Linked DNA regions of Homo sapiens: regions 1 and 3 are each linked to region 2. Evidence: promoter capture Hi-C in 16 types of primary human blood cells and fetal thymus (Javierre and others, 2016). All regions are on one chromosome and are shown on one strand. The core of a region is centred on a gene start or on the middle of the fragment in contact, and the rest is flanking DNA. Distances in the headings are between cores, read along the strand shown.

Region 1 (3,923 bases), core at 364-2,863, 890 kb after region 2:
CTTGGTTGCCTTTCTACATTTATGAATGAAAGGTAATGTTACTAATTATCTGACTTGGGATTCTTTTGTAGTTATATGGATTTGCTTACCCAGAAAGGCACACAGAGATAAATTTGACCTGGTTTTTAGCCTCGAAGTATTTACAGTCTAGTGAGGGAGGAAAACAAATAAACCAAAAATTCTGTCAAAGTGTCAGAATGTTTATGATATAGCTTAAACAAAAAGGCAGTGGTATTAGTTTGTGTACCAGGGAATTCCAAGGTGTGTACCTCCTCCAACTTCAATAGGCTGCCTCTGGCTTCTCTGGGGTTGGCCTTGAAATGAGCAGGGTCTGGGAGGCAAAAGGAAGGGACAGAAAAGGTCTGTCTCCACCACTACAGTTTGGTGATGTGGCTTTCTGGGCTTGAAGAAAGTTCAAGGCTTCTTCTTTCTCTTGAAGTATACATTTCTGGATTTCTCAAAGATTTATCACAGAGAATCTTTTGCTGCAACATTCGTGACATAAGCAATGCCATTTCTCAGGATCTTCACTCACTACCTGTAGCTCCTGAGCATGTGGTTGTCCCTTATACACAGACTCTTTCTGTTTGGGGTCCCACTTCTCTCCCAAGCAGTCCTCTTAGGTGAACAAGAACTCAACCCAAGCCTGGTCCTTCCCCGTGCACTACATCTGTGGACTACATCTGGTCCAGGGGAAGCACCTGTGCCTCCTTGTAGCTATGGAAATGTACCCCTCATTGCTCTCCCGTAGGCAAACTGCTCCAGCCACTGCCTTTGCCTTAGTTTTTCTCAAGGATGAGTCAAATGCCTAAAAGTCTTCAATTTCTCATGTGTCCTGGAAGTAGGAAATGAACTAAGTCTTAGAAAACTGGAGCTGGAGCACCTCCTTTGTAAGCTCTGCATAGATTTGGAATGTGGGAATATTTGGCACCTTAATTTTGTTCTCAGTTCTTGGAGTCTCAGCTGAAATAGGAGAGAAAAAGTCTCATTGGAAAAGTCTGTTTCATACCTCAATGAAAAGTACAGGGGTGATGAAATAAGGAATCTTCCATGCTGTTTCTTGAAGGCAGTAGGCCGTCTCCTGTGACTGGCCTTCTTACAATAAAACTGTGCGTCAGAGAGCCCTCTGTTAAGCCAGTTTGTGGTTCTCCAGAAGAGGAAAAAAGAAGCTTGGTTCTCTTCAAAAGCTAGATTATTCTTAGGCTTGGTTCTCCTAAGGAGCCAGCTGAATGTGCATCACTGTGAGAAAAGATTGCCTGGCAGGGAGAAATTTAGAAACATTTTTTTACACTAAAGCATTTACAGAGCATGAGCATTGAAGCCAGAGAGATCTGAATTTAAATTCCAATTTGGAACTTATTAGCTGTGTGGCCGTAGACCGACTGTTTAGCACTCTAAGCCCTTGGTTTTCTGATTTGTAAAAGGGGACTAATAACTAGCTTGAAGGGTAGCTGTGGAAATTAAATGAGATGTAGTATGTAAAGATTCCAAAACAGATGCCTTCGATGAGTAGTAGCCACTATCACCATTCCTCCTCAGCCTGGAATTCTCTCCCTCTTCTTCTCTGCCCCATCAATTCCCATTCTTCCTTAAAGAGAAGTCAGGGTAAGCCACCTCCTGCAGAAGGCCTTCTTGGATTCCTTTTCCCACTCATTATGGTATTGGTGCTTCTAAAGCATTTTGTAATATCTCTATTACTGCATGAACCACACTTACCTAAAGTCATTTGTACCCACATTTGCTCCCCTCGTTAGAACTGGGATTTCCTTGAGTGCAGAGAGTATATATAACTCACCCATCATCTCCCATGACTGCGACTGCCAAGGCAGAAATCATTGACCATATATTTGTGACATGTATGGAATCTGTAATTCACACCTCCCCATCTCAGAGAAAGAGGGAGAGAGGAGTTGCAGTGTTCCCTCCCTTGGGAGAAAACATATCTATTCCATCATAATTGAGATAGCAGATCATGATTCCCAGTTTGGCTCATTAACTCATAGGATTTTAGGACAGAAAAAAAAAGCCTTATCATGGGGGAAGTATGTTACTCTCAAGAAGCTTGTGTGTATCATGAGGTCAGGAGACCGAGACCATCCTGGCCAACCTGGTGAAACCCTATCTCTACTAAAATACAAAAAATTAGCCAGGTGTGGTGGTGTGGGCCTGTAATCCCAGCTACTCAGGAGGCTGAGGCAGGAGAATCGCTTGAACCTGGGAGGCGGAAGTTGCAGTGAGCCGAGATTGCGCCACTGCACCCCAGCCTGGCGACACAGCAAGACTCCGTCTCAAAAAAAAAAAAAAAAAAAAAAAAAAAAAGGTATATCCAATATTATGAGTTTATAGTGGGAAAATTATCCCAAAAATCTTACTTTGTTTTGTTTCAGAATAGAAAGCCCCAAAATACCTTGGTTGGTGGGGATATTTATGCATCAGTTATATCACAGGGTGGCAATTGGAACTGGGAACAAGGAACATGAGAAATATCTGTGTTTATCAAAAGGAAGCAGGTGTTACTAAAGCCCGAGAAATGCTGACCTATTTTTAACCACTTCTTTATATACAGAAGGGGAAACTGAGGCCCAGAGGGTGAAGAGATGTGTCCAAGGTCACAAAGCTAGTAGGCAACAGAGAGGCAGGATGTGTGACATGGCCCCGTGTGTGGGAGGAGCACTGGGTGAGGAGTGAGAGGTGGGTGCCATGGTGTGACCATGGGCAAGCCAGTAAACCTGAGACCTGGTTTTTTCATCTGAAAAATGGGAAGATAATATTGTGCCACAGAGGGCTGTTAAGGGATCAAAAGAAAAGAGAAAGCCATTTGTAAATGCAACACATTGTTTAAAACTGGCCTTCCTGGCATTTTAATCATCCAGCTTGTAAAAGAGCACACACTGAAGCTATATATCTAGACTCCAGTCCCTTCAGCATGACCACATACAAGGGTTTCCAGACAGTAAGTAGGAAAACCTATGCTAAGCAAAACTTCCTGGGAACTTTTTCATCAGGGGTAATGGTATAGGTGGGTAGTCACATGGGAAAAAGGTATAATTGGATCCACTTCTCAAATTGTAAACCAGGATAAATTCCAAATAGAATAGAGACCTACATTTTTTTAAGATGAAAATATGTAAGTACTAGCAGAAAACATAAATGAATTCTTGATAACGGGGAAAGCTTTTCTAACCATGGCAATAAGAAAAAAGTTAATTGATTTAATTACATAAAAATAAAAATAATGCTTCTATAGCAACAACTACAACAAAACAAAATGAAAACTAGTAATAAAACAAAAGAAAAATAGCAGCTGGGTATGGTGGCTCACACCTGCAATAATAGCACTTTGGGAGGCTCAGGCAGGAGGATTGTTTGAACTCAGGAATTCAAGACCAGCCTGAGCAATATAGCAAGACCCCATCTCTACCCAAATTTTTTAAAAAATGAGCCAGGTAGTGGTGTGTGCCTGTAGTCTCAGCTACTCAGGAGACTGAGGTGGGAGGATGGCTTGAATCTACGAAGTCAAGGACGCAGTGAGCCATGATCCAGCCTAGGCAACAGAGCAAGGGCTTGTCTCAAAAAAAAGTTAAAAAACAAAAATACCATAAGTAGGGGAAAAAGACAAATGAGAAGCTGAAAAAAGAAATTGTAATTTACATCACACACAAGGAGTTAATAGCCTTAACATAGAGGGAGCTTCTAAAAGTAAAAAATTAAAAATAAAAACAAGAATTCCACAGATATATATTAGAGATATAAACAGGCAGCTCACAGAGAAAGATATGCAAATGACCCTTATTGACATTCAACCTCACTCACAAATACAATGCAAAGGAAAATTACCCTGAAAACCAGGTCTCACCTGTCAGTTAAGCCTCAAATTGGACAAGGTTATCTCTTGGTGTGTCTACAGGAAAACAGATTTCACA
Region 2 (3,960 bases), core at 1,030-3,529:
CCAGTGGAAACATCCAGAAGAAATCTGGAATTAAACATGAATGCAGTATTTTGGAATTAATCTGTAAACAGAATGCACAAATAGAAGAGACAAGAGGAAGGTGAACATATAAAAACGGTGGCCAGGAACATGTGAGAATTGGGTAAAAGGAGAGAAGTCAACGAGAAATCAGAAAGAAGTTGATATACATGCCAAAGAAGGAAAAGAAGTCAAGAAGAACAGTCAATATTGTCAAATACTGAGTAAGATGCCAGCTGAGAGAAGGTATTGGGTTTGACAAAATAATTGTTACTGGATGGTGGAGGTAGAAACCAAATTGTTGTAATCTAAGGAGTGAATGACAGAACAAGAGGACACTAAATTAAAGCTCTGCTGATGAAGAAAATAGTAAGGCAGTAACTTGAGGATGAGTCATTGTCTATAAAGGATTTTTATTCCCCACCATAGTCCTAACCTAACATTTGACATCTATCTAGTAGGCACTCAATACCTACTGAATGCAATAATATTTTCATTTATAGACCAGGTCTCCTATAAAATAGTCCAGTGTTTATGTCCACATAAAACAGCACAAAACAGATTCATCATTCTGGGTGGGTAGAGGGATTGAAGGAAATAAAGACATTTCATATTCTATATTATGTTTTGGGTTAATTGGCAAGAATAATTACTTCTTTCTCACCCCATCCCTGACTATACACACACCCAAATTATAGATTATAGAGGAGAAAGGAATTAAATGACTCCTGAGACCAGAACTGCATAGTCCAAAAAAAAAAAAAAAATTCAGCAATCTTACTTTATTAAAAAATTAGGCATCAAGATGCTGCAATTTGCCTTACTTACATATTTAATTGCTCTTAGGTTAGATATATAATATGGGAAACCTGGAAAAAAATTTTAATGGTATAATAAACGCTTACAACCTAACATTAAGTGAAAAAAGCAGCTGCCTTATTGCATATGATCTCAATTTGGGAAACAGGAAAAAATATAAATACAAACACACATGCACACACACACACAAAGTCAGAATACTATAAGAAAATAAACTGAACGGTCACAGTGGCTCACGCCTGTAGTTCCAGTTACTCAGGAGACAGAGACAGGTGGATCGTTTTGAGCCCAGGAGTTCAAGACCCGCCCGGGCAACATAAGGAAACTCCATCTCCACACAAAAAAAGTAAAAATTAGCCAGGTGTGGTGGCTCATGCCTGTAGTTCCAGCTACTCAGGAGGCTGAGGAGGGAGATCAGTTGAGACGAGGAGTTCGGTGATGCAGTGAGCCGAGACTGCGCCACTGCACTCCAGCTTGGGCAATATAGAGCGAAACTCAGCATCAAAAAAAAAAGAACATCTTTCTATTCTGAATTTTCCCAATTTTCTACAATTAAAAACGCTTTAAAGATCTCTATAAAGTCAGTCAAGGGAATTTCTATCTAAGCACTTACCAGCAATTTGAGCTCCTTCTCTTTTGGTCTAGGTGGCTCTAAAATAACAATAAAGGCTACAGTGATTGAAATTCACCAGACTTGAAATAGACTGCAGCCTTCTTCCTTCCCACCTTCTTAGAATCTTTGTCCTATTCATCTTCCTTACGCTTCCCCGGGTTCTCTTACTTCTGGATTCTAACAGTGAGTTGTGAGAAGCAACGCGGAAAACGGAATGGAGACTCCAGCTTGTTTTAAACGAGCTGTATTACCCCGCACAGTGCAGGAGAAAAGATAATTGGCTCAGGTCTCGGCTCTGCCATCTACCACCTGTGGAGCCTTAGATAAGTCAGTTCTTATCTCTGTCACTCAACGGTCTCGGTCTTGTCATCTTTTACATGGAATGTCATGAAATATACAGTACATTGCAGGAACTGCCTCAGGTAAAGACTTCTAGGGTTCAGTAGGTCTCAGTCGATCCCTCTGAGAAAGGCCGCACCCTAAATGCACAGACTCTGACTCTAAGGGGATGGGGTCGGGGAATCTGCATTTTAGTAGCTTCTCAGGTGATTCAGATGCTCAGTCAGGATTGAGAAACCAGGACTCTTCCCAGCCCTCCTGTTCTCTGATCCACTTCTCTGCTTCCTCCACGTCCTAACGATTCTCCAGTTCCCGCACAGCAGGAGCGGAGGGAAGAGGGGAGAGAAGGCACCGCTAAGGACCGCTGGCCCCGCCAGGCGGCCGACCTCCCCATTCCAGGGGCGCCAGCCGGCGGATTACATAACGGGCCTCGGGGCGCGTTCTCGCGAGGTTTCCACCGCCCCCTCCTCGCTCCACGTCAGAGGGAACCGGGCGGAGCGGCCAACATGGCGGAACGCAGGAGACACAAGAAGCGGATCCAGGTAGCAAAGCCGAGCTCTGGGCAGGGGGCTTCGGCGCGCTGGATAGTGGAAGGGGCGGGGAAAGCCCCCTAAAAGGGCGAGCGAAAGCAAGGGCGAGGTGGGGTGGGGTGGGGTGGGGTTCCGCCGCGAGGCAGCTGGCTGCAGGCTGCGCGTTGTGAGGGGCCTGAGGGGGGGCGGTGTTGGCGACGGCGGAGACAGAGACGGAGGTGGTGGTGGAGCAGCAGGGGAAGGAAGGAGGCGCCGCGCTCAGAATCCGGCTGCGGAGGCGCGGCTGTGGGCCTGGAGTTCCTGTGGTCGCGCTGTCCCGGGCCTGAGCTGGAAGGTCAGCCTCCCCTGGGGCGCAGACGCTGACCCTTCCCGGGGCTCCTCCCCTCCCTTCACCCCATCCTCTGGCCTTAGCTGGCCTGAAATTAAGGCCACGGTAATAGGGGTAGCAGGAGGCGGCGGACTGACCTAAAGCAGCTGGTTCTTTGTGCGCATAGACCGTAAGGGGGAATGATCTGGACTTGGTCAGCTGCCTCGGGGCCTAGGCAGGGATCTGCTCATCCAGATGTTCAGTTGCGTTGCCCTTCTTTCCCTTCAATATTATTAACTTAATAGTCCACTTGAAGCTTGCCGGCTTTTTTCCGGGCGACGTGGTGTAAACAACCACAACCTCGTTGGTGCTGCAACGAGCTGGTGGAGCCCAGAAACCTTTCACATGCCAGTGTGTCATCCTCGTAGTAACGTACATAACATCTCCCCCTAATTCCACATGCGTGTCATTTGTGCATTTCTTCCTTGCGATTTTCCCTGGTTCTTGTTCTTTGCCAAGAGGATTAATTATGTAGAACATCTTGGACTCAGGATATTTATTAGTCGTCTCATCAGCTGATGTGCTGAGAAACCTTCATAAGCCCTCAAATTGATCACATGTAGTAAATTGTTACTATAATCATAAATTGTTACATTCATCATTGCCTTTCTGTTCCTTACTATTTCATTGCTTAGAATGATTTTTTCTTTCTTCCATTTTATCCCTTCTTTTTTTTTTTAAGTTTATCGATTTATTGGCGTACAATACAGATGTTTTGAGCTATGCAAGTTAAAATTCTTCTGTAAACTTTTTAAGTGCTGTGAAAAAGACACACATGATCAGTAAATTTGGAATTTTGGAATTTGGCAGAAATAAAGTAGTTCCGAACAGGGTGCAGAAGGGAATTAGAAAGAGGCAGATTTCGAGTTCAGACAGATAAGACTAGGTCTTAAGATCAGTAGAAGTTTCTAATTATACTGTTCTTAATCTTTCAAGAGTTAGTGTTATTCCTCTGACGTGGGTATACAGTATTTTATTAGATTGTATATTGAAATTGTCTGTCAGATTTGTACTTACAGAACTCCTTAGATTTACACTTGACAGTACAATTTTATGCCCTTCAATACACATTGTTTTACAATTCCAGTTGCTCTTTAATATTGTTGTAAGGGCTATATAATTCACCTTTTGAATAGCTGCTCTTATTTAGTTGTGATCTTATATTAAACAGAGGCTGTGGAGTAATGTGACAGTGGCAGAGAGCTAAAACTTGAGCCAAACTGCCTGTTTGTACCCCACCTCCACCAATTATTGGCTGAGTAACTTTGAGCAAG
Region 3 (3,856 bases), core at 942-3,441, 940 kb after region 2:
CTTTAAGCTCAAGGAATTCAATGAACATATCTAAACATTCAAATAATATACTACTTATTTGAATTCAATTAACATATCTCAGCATTCAAATGATATACTACTTATTTGAATTCAATTAACATATCTAAACATTCAAATAATATACTACTTATTTGAAGAATATACTAGAATTTAATAGTCACAGTTTTGGCAATTCACTAATAATCCAAAGGTCTACAATATATACTTTATGTGTCTATAGTAATTAGTCTTCCTTCTGGAAAATGGTTTTCAAATGACAGGTAAAACTGTAGTAAATGCAGAAACGGCATTTAACTTGTGGTGAAGTTCATATCAACACAGAACTTTCTAAAGAAATATGATTCCAGAGAGTGCTAAAGTCTGAATAAGCATTTCTGTATGAATTTGGGGATTCCCAAAGGTCTATCTGGATGCATTTATAATTTTCAACATCACTCAGTCCCGGACATCTATAACTACTTTTGGGAGAAGTAATGTAAATGAGCAATTCTAATCCAAGCTAATCTTGAAAGAGAAGTTAGGAGACAATTTTTCTTTCATTCTGAACTTATTTTAAAACACATAAAATTAAAACTATAAATATTAATACGTTTTGTTTCCTGTTTACTTTTTAATTATCATAATGAACAGAATACATATTTCTCTTTAGCCAACTGCCGAACTGGCACTCAAAATATTGAATTCAGCAAACATAAAGGATTACACACGCCAAATAATGAGTAGATATTTAATCAAGGCACTTGGTTAGGTAAGTGAAGACCACCATAGCACAATAAATATAAATAGAAAGGCCCACAGAACTTTTGTTTTTGAGACAGGGTCCCACTCTGTCGCCCAGGCTAGAGTGCAGTGGAGTGATCACAGCTTAGTGCAGCCTTGACCTCCCAAGGCTCAAGTGATCCTCCCACCTCAGCCTCTGGGTCTGCTGGGACTACAGCTGTGTACACCACCATGCCTCGCTAATTTTTTTTTTTCTGTATTTTGTAAAGATGGCGTCTCACCACATTGCCCAGGTTGGAGAACTAGTTTTTTAAACAATTAACAGAAATAAGTTATTTTTCTATGCTGACTTGAAAATGAAGAGCAGAGAAATACTGAATACTTTCTATGCCAGGCGTTGTTGTATTAACTAATTAAACCTCAAAATGATCCCATGAGGCGTTATTATTTATGTCTCTGCTTTATAAAGAAAGAAATGGAAGCAAAACAGGTTAAGTAACTTGTCAACCAAGGTCACACAGCTATTAAGTGCCAAAGTAAGACTAGGACCAGGCCTGCCTGGCTTAAATCATCCTCTTATCCACTTTGCAGTGCGGAGTACATACCAAGGGTTGGGACAAGGGTGAAGTAAGACACTTGTCTTGGGTGCAAAATTAAAGAAGGCACCAAAAAAACCTCAGTGATCAGATAGGCATTTTAATGCAATATTTTAAAAAATTAGAATTAATGCAAAAATCCTATGATAAAATACCAAAATTCTAAATAAAGATGGGATCAGAATTAATTTTCTTTGCGCCTTGAGCTCCTATATGGCTTGTCATTGTTACTAGTTCTGTCTTTATTTAAAATTTTGTGCCTGAGGCAAGAGCCTCCCTCACTTCATTTGCCTCATCCTAGTCTAGGACCCAAACCAAATTTTTCCTTTAAGTCTTGAGCTCCAATCAATGACTGGCTAACCTTATCATAGTATAATAGTAATTATCTGAACTGCTGATACCATCTTTCTGAAACATGCAACAGGCAAAAGCATTCTATATTGAATGAATATTACTGAATATAATTAATATTGAATAGTCAAAGCTTTCATACTTTAAGACGAAAAGAGAAACCCAATTTTGACAACATTCTACGCTCAACTTTAGCCTGCTGTACTATCTCTACCACATTCAGTAATCACATATACATTTAACAAATATTTTTCGAGCACCTACTATGTACCACATCAAAGTTGGTGCTCCAACAATAATGAAATGATTAAGTAGAATTTTTACATAGGAAAAGGGGGAAACAGAACAGCACTTTTTGGTACGTATCTACTTATGGAGTTCTTAATGGGGTACATTTTCTCATTTAATCCTCCTATTATCACTATTTTGTAGATGAGAAAACAGGCTCAGAAAGGTGTATAACTTGTCCAAAATCATCCAACTAGAAAGTGACAGAACTAGATCCAAACCCAGATCTACCTGGTTAAAAAAACCCACTTGCAAGACAATTCAAATTTCTACAAAGACTTCAAAGCAACCTAGAAAACATTTATGACAAGTAGGAAAGTGAAAATATAAAAGTGTTTACTAGATTAAAACCACAAAAAAGTATGTTTGCATGTGGACAAACAGCAAAAGGAAATCATTGCGTAAGTGCAGTTGATAGCAACATTAAAAGAAATTTATACAATACAACAAAGGGTACAGAAAAAAATCAGTTTAAGTCGGATAAAACAAATACCAGTGTCAACTTTGTATTTTTCACTATGTAAAATGAGCAGAAATGAGTTTGATATATGGTATGCTTGATACAGAAATTGAAGACTTTCAAGAAAAGCTTTAGTTATAAGTAATCTGAGCTTCCACATCCTATAAGGTCAATTATTTTGTTATCATCAATACTTCAAACAACAAAATGCTATCATTAAATATGACCTACCCAAATGTATAACTGGAACTAAAACTTGAAATTTACATACATAATTTAGCAAAAGGTCATAGCATGGTCACTAAGTATAATTTAACCAATTATATAGTTTTTGTGTTTTCTTCACCATACTCAGTGACCAGGTACTTTATCCTTTATATTTATGGCTTTCAACTTATTTCTCTACTTAAGAATGTCAAGTTCTGACTAACATTCATTAATGCAAAAACTTGGTAGGAACATGAATTTCAGTAGTTTCTTGAATGTCTCAGGTCTGATCAGTGAAAAGAAACAAAACATCCAGGAGGGATGTTTTAAATTAGAACAAGAAATATTTTACAACAGAGAGAATAGTACTTTTACTAAACATTGGACTTAATTGCAATATGCAGTCACTTGGCCTGAGAACACTAATAAGTATTTGACTTTTTAAAAAATGCAAGAATGTGAAAAAAATAGCAAACTAGCAATAATCCTAGAAAAGTACATGTGTTAAACATCACTATTTCTCCAATTTCTAAGATAGCTGGTGCCTAATAATTGGTTAGAAAAACCTACAAAACTACTCTTGGGTTTTGTCAAATTATTACTGATAGTACAAAGTATTTGCACCTTGAAGAAACAAGCAACATTCTAAAGAAAATCAGTGCTTACTTGATAATCATTTCTCTTAATATTTGGAACATCCATGTTGTGAGTAGAAGGACAAATATCTTCATATTTTTTGCCCGTGAAAATATCAATTCCAACAAGGTGAACCTAACAGAGGAGAACAGGAAACCTGTTTAATCTCTGCCAAGTATATCACTCATTACACACACAAGAGCACAATACCAATGCTGATTACAACAGATTCTTTTTCTCCTCCTTCCAAGGTCATCTAATTTTACTTAAAAAAAAATGTAGTGGTCTTACAATTAAGAGGCAGTAAACAACTAAACAGTATCACGACATGTCAAGACCCAATATAGACCAGTGATTCAATTATGAGATTACACAAGAAAAATAAAGTGTAGATTTCTTAGAATTGCTAGAACAGGTTTTCTCATCTGTAAACTAAATAGATCTTATAGGTCACTAGGATTCAGGAAAGTTTCAGTTCCCAGTTAATGAACATTGTAAGGGCCCAAGAAGGGAATGCTACCTTTAAGTATTCAACGTAATAACTGATTACCCAGTAATTGTGGGAAGGAAAAAATAG

Evidence for each region. The method cuts DNA at HindIII sites, captures the fragments that hold promoters and counts their contacts. A CHiCAGO score of 5 or more calls a contact.
Region 1: a contact is called between a fragment that was not itself captured here and the fragment with the promoter of SEC62 in region 2, in 1 of 17 cell types (total B cells). The highest score is 5.5, in total B cells.
Region 3: a contact is called between a fragment that was not itself captured here and the fragment with the promoter of SEC62 in region 2, in 6 of 17 cell types (naive B cells, non-activated CD4 T cells, total B cells and 3 more). The highest score is 6.3, in naive B cells.

The regions. Positions count from the first base shown.
Region 1 is chr3:170,853,211-170,857,133 of GRCh38, forward strand. No RefSeq gene overlaps it. Among named protein-coding and RNA genes, the nearest start is that of RPL22L1, 15 kb to the right of the region's middle. The HindIII fragment of the contact is 892 bases long and covers 1,168-2,059 here.
Region 2 is chr3:169,964,528-169,968,487 of GRCh38, forward strand. It overlaps SEC62 (SEC62 preprotein translocation factor), which reads left to right and starts at 2,280. Exons shown (of 8, transcript NM_003262.4): 1 at 2,280-2,331. The coding sequence starts at 2,296. It also overlaps the pseudogene FHL1P1. RefSeq lists enhancers at 1,959-2,398, 3,955-3,960. The HindIII fragment of the contact is 8,040 bases long and covers 1-2,940 here.
Region 3 is chr3:170,903,680-170,907,535 of GRCh38, forward strand. EIF5A2 (eukaryotic translation initiation factor 5A2) reads right to left here. Exons shown (of 5, transcript NM_020390.6): 3 at 3,310-3,414. Among named protein-coding and RNA genes, the nearest start is that of EIF5A2, 3.0 kb to the right of the region's middle. The HindIII fragment of the contact is 744 bases long and covers 1,820-2,563 here.